2 separate regions of the Homo sapiens genome follow, and region 1 is linked to region 2. The links are contacts of gene promoters, found by promoter capture Hi-C in blood cells and fetal thymus (Javierre and others, 2016). All regions are on one chromosome and are shown on one strand. Each heading gives the region's core, a stretch centred on a gene start or on the middle of the fragment in contact. The rest is flanking DNA. Distances are from core to core; before and after follow the strand shown.

Region 1 (4,786 bases), core at 204-2,703, 770 kb after region 2:
GATGCGCTTACCTGGTCTCCGAAGCCGCTGCATTTTTCAGAGGTGAAGAATTGGCTCAGCCCACCCGCTTCTGGCCCCAGCCCAACATGTGTACAGCATTTTCACTTTTCTTAGCAGGAAAAACAAAGTGAGATAACTCTCTGTTCAGGTGGTGAAAGGTTTTCTCTCTGTTCTTGAGTGAGCTGGAGCTTAATTTCTTTTCAGTATGTCAGTAAATAGTTGGTTTTGGAGGGACTCCAGCAAATGGAAAAACAGTAGGTTCCAAGCTTTGTTTTTATTATGAAGCAGCAGACTCTTGAACAACACGGTGTGTCCGAGACTCCTGAACAACGTGGTGTGTCCGAGACTCCTGAACAACGTGGTGTGTCCGAGACTTCTTCTCAGGCCTGGTGCTTTGCCACGCTGCATGTGAGGCAGGCTGCTCTCGGTCCACAAGGCCAGGGGGCCCTTGCTAAGAGGGCAGGGTCACCACACCACCTCTTGCTGTCTCCAGCTTCAGGGTGCCCTCTTTTCCCAGCCACCACTGGAGCTGATGTGGGGACATTGTTCTTTATTCTTTGCTTTCAGTGCATTCCCAGTTTCTGGTGCTTCGTCTGTGTCATCGGGGCTGGGGACTCAGGAGCGCACTGTTCTGGTATACCTGCTACACCTGCTGTGTGCCAGGCAGGCACTGGGTGGTCTTTAAGTGCATGGTGTGTGGGTGGGCCAGACACGAGAGCTGGACCAGGACAGGACGTGACGTGCTCAGTGCTGGACACAAGTCAGGACCGACGGGAGGGGGAAGGGGAGTCTGAGGAGGGACGTGCCAGCCTGGAGGGGGCATCTCCTCAGTAGCGGCCTCAGGGCTGGCTCCTGCATGCCGGCCACAGTCCAGGCAGAGGGGACTGAAGGGTCCTCAGGCAGCAGGCCCTTTACTAGGTTGCGGCCCCTTCTCAGCAGCCTTGAGGCCAGATGATGGGACTTGGGCTCTTGGTGGTGGGAAATCAGCAAAGGTCCCCTCTTGGAAAATATCATCAGGTTCAGGGATGTATAAAGAAGAAAGTAACACTTCGTAAGTTTCATCGTTTAGCTAACCCCCTGTGTAAAGTAGTAAAGTAACCATGTGTCTGCTTAGAAAATTGAACAGCACAGAAAGCTGCACCATAAGTCTTCCCTGTTCCTTCCCAGCTGCCCCATTAGGAGTTCCTAGTGTAGACGTTGTACATAGTAGCATGCGTGTGAGACACAGATATCTTTTTTTTTTAAGTTCCGGGATACATGTGTAGGATGTGCAGGTTTGTTACATAGGTAAACGTGTTCCATGGTGATTTGCTGCACCTACCAACCCATCACCTAAGTATTAAGCCCAGCATGCATTAGCTATTTTACCTGATGTTCTCCCTCCCACTGCCCCTGCCCTGACAGGCCCCAGTATGTGTTGTTCCCCTCCCTGTGTCCATATGTTCTCATTGTTCAGCTCCCACTTACGAGTGAGAACATGCAGTGCTAGGTTTTCTGTTCCTGCGTTCGTTTGCTGAGGATAATGTTTTCCAGCTCCATCCATGTCCCTGCAAAGGACATGCTCTCATTCCTTTTTATGGCTGCATAGTATTCCATAGTGTATATGTACCACATTTTCTTTATCCAGCCTATCGTTGATGAGCATTTGGGTTGATTCCATGTCATTGTTATTGTGAATAGTGCTACAGTGAACCTACATGTGCACGTGTCTTTAGAGTAGAATGATTTATAATCCTTTGGGTATATACCCAGTAATGGGATTGCTAGGTCAAATGGTATTTCTGGTTCTAGGTCCTCTAGAAATCAGCACACTGTCTTCCATAATGGTTGAATTAATTTACCTTCCCACCAACAGTGTAAAAGTGTTCCTATCTCTCCACAGCCTTGCCAGCATCTGTGGCCATTCTGACTGGCATGAGGTGGTGTCTCATTGTGGTTTTGATTTGCATTCCTCTAATGATCAGTGATGTTGAGCTTTTTTCCATGTTTGTTGGCTGTATAAATGTCTTCTTTCGAGGAGTGTCTGTTCATGCCCTTTGCCCACTTTTTATTGGGGTTGTTTGGGTTTTTTTCTTGTAAATTTGTTTCAGTTTCTTACAGACTCTGGATATTAGACCTTTGTCAGACAGATAGTTTGCAAAATTGTCTCCTATTTTGTAGGTTCTCTGTTCACTCTGATGATAGTTTCTTTTGCCGAGACACAGATATGTTATAGCAGTGGTCCCCAACTTTTTGGCACCAGGGACCGGTTTCATGGAAGACAATTTTTCCATGGACCAGGGAGGGGACGGTTTCAGGATAATTTAAGCACATTACATTTATTGTGTACTTTAGTTCTGTTATTCCTACATCATAATAAATCACAGAGTAATTATACAACTCATAATAAAGAATCAGTGGGAGCCCTCAGCTTGTTTTCCTGCAACTAGACGGTCCCATCTCAGGGTGATAAGAGACAGTGACAGATCAGCAGGCATTAGATTCTCATCAGGAGCACGCAACCTAGATCCCTGGCATGCACCATTCATACGAGGGTTTGCACGCCTGTGAGAATCTAATGCCGCAGCTGATCGGACAGGAGGCGGAGCTCAGACAGTAATGAGAGTGATGGGGAGCGGCTGTAAATACAGATGAAGCTTCACTCTCTCACTGCCCACCTCGTGCTGTGTGGCCCGGTTCCTCACAGGCCATGGACTAGTACTGGTCTGTGGCCCAGGAGTTGGGAACCCCTGTCTTATAGTTTTTAGGTATAGATGTATAGATATCCCTTTTCTGCATTCACAGAAGGGACGGTGGCACACACAGAGCTCCGTGCCTTGCTGGAGACTGTGTCTTAGAGCCCCTTCCTGTCAGCACTGCGGGCTGGCCTCCTGGGCCCGTGTTGAGGAACTGCACGGTGTTCTCACGTGACTGCACCTCAGTAACTGAAGCCCACCCCCGCCGATGGATGCATACGTTATGAGTTATTTCCAGATTTGGCTTTGGTCTTTTCTCTTACAGACCATGTTGGAGTGAAGTATGTTCTGTGGGATAGTCTAGGTGCACCTTTGGGGCTATCCATGGGGGCCAATGCCTCGGAGGGGAGTTGCTGAACTGAAGGGTGGATTGTCAGCCTTGATGTTGCCACCAGAAGGGCCGCTCACTTTCGGCCCTCAACAGTGGTGCCTGGCCTCTTTTCCCGCTTCCTTGTTCCTAGCTGGAGTGAGCCAGCTTTGACTTTGAGCAGTCCGCTAGTGAGCAGTGACTAGCATCTCCTTTGCCTTTGATTTGCACCTAATTAGGAGGCAGTCAAGCATTTTTCATGTTTGCGGCTTATCTGCCTGTCATTTTCTGTGAACTGTTCATATCCTTTGCTATTTTTCTGTTGAATTTTCTTTCTCTTGTTTCTCTGCATGCACAGTTGAAGGTTTTGAATTGTCAAAGTAGCTTGATCAGATGTGAGTCTTAGACACGGCAGCAGTGATGCGGGTGCTCTGCGGGTGATGCTGCTGGTGGCACTCGCTGGCCTCAGTTTCTGAAGTGCCTCAGGCTTCTCATAAGCGGAATTGTAGCTTCTCCATGGGGGCCAGAAGGCATTTGATGTATCCTGTCTTCCTGCATTTTTGTCTCTGAATAGCTGATTTGGCTAGAGAGGCTGTTAAACCTCGATTTCATCTTAGCTACTCTTTTAGGCTCAGATAATCCTTTTGTTGTGCCACTAATTACAAATTTGCAAAACGCTTTAGTACTGCTTAAACCGTCCCTCAGGACCTGGTATCTAGTGGTGAGTATTCAGTGCTTTTGAAGAAACAAGGCCATGCCCTCACACACTCCTGACTTCAGAGCAGCGATTTTCCCTCCGAGGTAAGTTGATTAAACATGTTTTGCTTTCAGTGGGAATTTGTTTTTAGTCTTTTTGAGAACTGCTCTTTTCATTCTTTTTAAGTATGAGTCTTGCTAACATAAAGCTGACATGAGTGTGATCTGTTTCCCTTTGTGACATGCTTGAACGGTCCAGTGTTCACGTCATTGTAGTTTCACCACCTGACATTGGCCGTGTTGTTATTCCTGTTGAATGCCCAAAAGTCCATCGTCAGTGTGGGCTGCTTGTGGGCATTTGGTGGGCATTTCTGTGAAAATTTCTATAGATTAGCTCGGGATATTGGGTTCAAGTTTCTTCTTCCACTGGACCTGATGGAAAATCCACTTCTCAGCGATGCCCCGGACCGCACAGCGATACTGATTCTCGGTTGTCTCTTAGGCTGGAGAATCGGGAAGGGAGAAGGCTACGCCGATCTGGAATATGCCATGATGGTATCCATGGGCGCCGTCAGCAAGGAGACGCCGGTGGTCACCATCGTCCACGACTGCCAGGTGCTCCTTATGAATGGGCTGAGCAGAGCCACTGCCATTCTCTTCTGAGGGAGCAGGGGGTGGGGAAGGAGACTCATCTGCTTCTGAACCATGCTGTGTGGCGAGTGGTGTGGATCAGCCAGGGCTGGACTTGCTAGTGGTACAGCGGCTAAGCCTTAGCCCCAGAGTGGATTTGGGGGTGCTTCTCTAGCCAGCCTCACGTTCCCACCGAGCGGGGCAGTGTGCACGACTGCAGTGGCATTCCCAGCAGCCCCTTTATCCCTCCTCTCTTCCCCCAGGTCGTGGACATCCCTGAAGAGCTTGTTGAGGAGCACGACATCACTGTGGACTACATCCTCACTCCAACCAGAGTCATCGCCACAGGCTGCAAGCGCCCAAAGCCAATGGGAATCACCTGGTTCAAGGTGGGTCACGGCAGTGGCCAGCTCTGGCC
Region 2 (4,666 bases), core at 1,629-4,128:
AGTTGGAAGGAGCCATTAGCAGGTGAAAGTGAGGCTGTTTGCCTCAGTGGCCCACTGCTTCTCTGCCCTGTCTAGCCAGGTTGATGGTCCCCTCTGGTCTGGTGGTAGCTTCTGCTGCTCAGGTGTCAGGCCTCTCTGCAGGGCCACCACTAGCCCAGGGTGCTCCTGTGTAAGTTCACATATGGCGCTGCTTTGGAGCAGGCTAAGGCCCAGGCTGGGGTGCATGACTTGGTTAGCTGAGCACAGGATAAATGCAAGCCTCACTTGTGTTCTTGGCAAGGGACCCTTGATTAGTGAAGAAACCACACAACTGTGCCCAGGAACCCTGCTTCTGTCTGGGTATAGGCTGCCTGGGGAGGTGTGATCTGGGAGGAACCTGCAACTCTCTCCCTGGGATCAAGGAGGTTCTGTGGGTTTGGCTTGGGTACCCATTACCTTGGGTTCACAAAGATCTCATTCTGCTCCTCTTTCCCTCTACTTGGGGGCTTTGGAAACAAAAGCCTAAAACAGGCAGTGGTAGTGGCCAAACTTCCAGCCTGAAGCACACTCACGTCACAAACTGACGTGTGCTGGACTCTGTCTGGCTTTTTTTTTTTTTTTCCTTGAGACAGGGTCTGGCCCTGTCACCCGGGCTGGATGGAATCATGGCTCATTACATCCTCAACCCCCTGGGCTTAAGTGATCCTCCCACCTCAAACTCCCAAGTAGCTGGGACCACAGGCATGTGCCACCATGCCTAATTTTTAAATTTTTTGCAGAGATGAGGTCTCACTACGTTGCCAAGGCTGGTCTCAAACTCCTGGGCTCAAGAGATCTTCCCACCTTGGCCTCCCAAAGTGCTGGGATTACAGATGTGAGCTACCATGACAGTCCCTGGTTTTTGAGCACCTTTCATGCTCTTTCATATTTGATCTTCTGAAACTTCCTTGGGATTGGTTCTATGGTTATCATTATTTTAGACATAAAACTGAAGCTCAGAAAAGTTAGGCAACTTGTCTGATACCTGTCTCTGATAAGAGGCAGAGCAAGGATTGGGATCTAGGCCTTGTTACTCAGAGCACAGGGGCAGGGTGGCTGGAGTTTCCTTCACATCCCCAGCCTGTGTCATGATGGATTTGCTTTCCTGGTTTTGAACATCACACACATGGAATTGTCTGTACATTCTGGGGTCTGACTTCATTGTACACTTCATCCACATTGTTGTGGGTTGTGGTTGTGTGCCCATTTCCATTGTTGTACAGAATTTCCTCTCTGTGAACATGCCATACTTTCTTTTTAAAATCTTTTTTTCCTATGGATGGACATCTGGATCATTTCCAGTTTGGGGCCATCAGGAAGAAAGCTGCTGTGGGTAGTTTTGTTCATGTCTTCTGGTACACATAAGCTCTCATTTCTCTTGGGTGAGTTGAGGAATTAGTTGGTCATCAGGTATTCATATGTTTAGGTTTTGTAAATACTACCAGTTTGCCAATGTGGTTTTATCAATTTCATGAGCCATGTATGAGGGTTCCAGCTGTGACATCCTCGACAAACTAGGTATTGTCAGTCCTTTTAATTTTAGCCATTCTTGGGTGGGTGAGGGCAGTGAAGAGCTATTCTTGACATGGAATGACAAGACCTAGTGTGCCCGAGGTGAAGGCCTGAGCGTCCAGGGGAGCATGAGCCTGTCTTCTATGCCCTGCTGTGCTATGGCAGTGTTTCAGTGTGCTCTGGAGGAAAACAGCAGAGAAGCCGAGTGCTCCAAAGTGGGCAGAAATGAGACAGGCATAATGTGCTAGGCTAATGGTGACTCTTGGAATTTTGTCATTAGCTACAAAGAGGGCAGTGACATGATTTACACACACACACGGGGTGGGGTATCTGAAATATTAGGCAGCTAGTATGGCAGGGGCACCGTCTAATCAGCATGGATGCTGGCCAGGAGAGGACATGTGTATGTGCTGGCTGGAAACAGTCCTGCTCATAGGTCACGATCTTAATGATTAAATAACAAGGCAAGAAATCCGAGAGGGCAGTGCCTGGGAGCACCCTGTTTGCTCTGTGGCCAGAACGCAGCACACTGAAGTATTGCCCATCAGGGTAAGAGGTGCTCGTGATGGTTTGGGCAAATACAAATATTAATCCAGAGTATTTGAGTCTACATGAAAATACTGAAAAGTGAGGGAAGACCCAACCGTTTCCAAGAAATACAAATTGGAACTGGCGATAACTTAAAGAACATAATCAGAGAGGCAGAGGGCATTGGGTTTTACTAAAATATGAAGACATACGTCCTGTCTCCACGTCAGCAACTGCCCAAAGTACACGCGTTCCAGCGAAAAGAGCGGGTGGGGTGGGGAGGCTCAGGGCCAGCCAGAGCTTCGGTGCTTGCACGCCCAGGCCTCCGGGTGACGACTGCTTCCAATTCCGCGCCCTTTAAACCCCATGTTGTTAAAAAAAAAAAAAAAGAAAGAAAACCTATTTCTCTAAAAGTCACGATTCGAGCCCCACCTGAGGACGCAGCGATCCAGCGCCAACTCATTATCTGAGATAAAGGAGTGATTTTACCAGAAGCGCCTATGCAAGACGCAGGGCCCCGCGCGGGCTGCTCCCACCTCTTTCTCTCCTTGCAGGCTACCGAGACCCTGGCTGGGGCGGCCGGCGGCCCCTCCGGCCCATCCGTCGGAAATGATGAGTGGCTCCAGTGGCCGGGGTCCGCAGGACCTACCCCAGCGGGCATGGCGGGAGCCCCGCAGCCCCACACAGCCGCGCTCTGAGCCGCTGACCCCGCGTCTCTCGTGAGGGACCAATCAGCTGCCAGCTAAGGTCACATACCTAGAAGGCCAATTTTGATTGGCTGGGCGCGGGCTAGTCAGCGGGACGGGCGGGCGCGCGGGCGTTGTTGGGCTCCTCTGAGCGGTTGAGGTTGGGGCTGGGGTTGAGCTCGGGTTGGGTTCCTCCTGGGGCAGGAGGGAAAGGCGGGAGCCAGGGCGTCAGGGCCTGCGGACGATGTGTGTGTGAAAGGGCGCGTCAGCCATAAGAAGCCATATGCGTGCGAGCCGGTCCCCACCGTCCCCGCGGCGTTGTCACCATCATCATGAGGCCACTGGAGCAGCCTCAGGCGCTGCTGCCGGGGGGCCGGGCGCGGGGTGCGTCGGGCTCTGCAGGTTGGCACTCACACCCAGCGCGCAGGATGGCAGGCAAGTGAGTCCTGAATCCTGCCCGCGGCTACCCGACACCTCGCCTGTGAGTTCCCGGCCCGGCATTGCTCCATGACCTATGCACAGGCAGAACTCTTGACCGCCACCCACAGGAACCTCACTTACATTGGCTTAACAAAAACGCAACTGATGGTTCCACATAACTGAAAATGTCAGAAGTAGGCCTTCAGGCATGGATGTATCCAGGTACACATTGACCATGGTCCTGGAAGGTTTCTCTCCATCTCTCAGCTTCCTTCCTTTTTGCTGGCTTCCCTTGTGGAGGCAAGATGATCACCAGGACCTCCTGAGGTTTACATGTTATCAGATTATCAACCTCAACAAAAAGGAGATTCTTTTTTTTCCCAGCTTTCCAGGCTGGGCAGTGGTGAGTTTGGCCCACCTGAACTACAAGGACTGAGATGGCTGTGGCCCCCCCCCTCCCCACCAGGAATATAGCAGTGCTGTCATTACCAGAAGGGGCCTCGGATGCTGTGGAGGGCAGTGCCCCATCCTCTGTTTTCAAGCATTATCTGGGAGAGTTGATGCGTGAACCTATTACTCTCACAAAAATAGCAATAATAATAATGGTTATTATGACAATGAAACCCAAAAACACTTATATCGCTCTTACGGTTTCCACATACAAAGCACTTTGACCCACTACTGTCAGGGAAGCAGGGCTTTGCACCCACTGGAGACGCTTCATCCAGCCAACATTCAAGCAGTTTGTTGGGGAGTGGAACAGGGAAGAGCCACACAGGCTGTGTAACCCCAAGTGCTTTGTCATCCCAGAGACAAAGCACCCGGGTTTTTATAGTGGAAGGAGGTTCATTAATGGACAGTTTGACGATGTTTTTTCTTCAGTATTTCAGTAAGTTGAGGGTGTCTGACAGATCATCCTAGGTGATGTGATTGGCAGCTACATGTCTTGGAAAGTTCTCAGCAGGTTGGAATGCTCCTGTCTTTTCTGATGCTCCAAGCACAAGTGTAGCTGGAGTCAGCTTGAAGCTGGTTGGCTTGGGAATGCAGGATTCCATGACAGCCAGCCCCCAGGAGCCCCTAGACATTCACGCATGAGCTAGCACACGCCTGCTTCTGATGTCACCCTCTCACTCTTCTTGGGCTCAGAGGATCCCCCCATCCCCACCACCCGTGGGCTTTATTATTAAGAGTCAGTTCTGAGAAGACAGGTCCAGGCCTGTGCTCTAGCATCCCTGCCCCCTAGTTTACACAAACCCTAAGCTTTTCTGTTCTTCTCTTCTAGGAATAGCACATTTCAAACCTACAAGAAAGAAGTGTGCCTCCCCCGTCATTCGGTAAGGAAAGCAAATCCTCAGCCACTGGCCCTGACCCCAACATATCCCTGTGGGGTGAGGAGAGCAGGGAATGTGGGTCCAGAAGCTGCATCCCATGAGAGAATCCTCCAAACACAAAAGTGTGGTTGCAGGAGCTATCCCTGGGCCTCCAGAACACCTCCCAGGCCC

The links. Contacts are between HindIII fragments. The CHiCAGO score rates a contact against its expected background, and 5 or more counts as called.
Region 1: a fragment that was not itself captured here is called in contact with the fragment with the promoter of C16orf95 in region 2 in 1 of 17 cell types (M0 macrophages); the score reaches 5.9 in M0 macrophages.

The regions. Positions count from the first base shown.
Region 1 is chr16:86,541,668-86,546,453 of GRCh38, reverse strand. MTHFSD (methenyltetrahydrofolate synthetase domain containing) reads left to right here. Exons shown (of 8, transcript NM_001159377.2): 6 at 4,241-4,353; 7 at 4,632-4,757. Among named protein-coding and RNA genes, the nearest start is that of MTHFSD, 11 kb to the left of the region's middle. The HindIII fragment of the contact is 2,370 bases long and covers 269-2,638 here.
Region 2 is chr16:87,315,604-87,320,269 of GRCh38, reverse strand. C16orf95 (chromosome 16 open reading frame 95) reads left to right here and starts at 2,878. Exons shown (of 7, transcript NM_001195124.3): 1 at 2,878-3,179; 2 at 4,447-4,498. The coding sequence starts at 3,028. C16orf95-DT (C16orf95 divergent transcript) reads right to left here and starts at 2,761. Exons shown (of 2, transcript NR_135180.1): 1 at 2,548-2,761; 2 at 2,227-2,413. RefSeq lists enhancers at 2,851-3,300, 4,557-4,666. The HindIII fragment of the contact is 6,644 bases long and covers 1-4,426 here.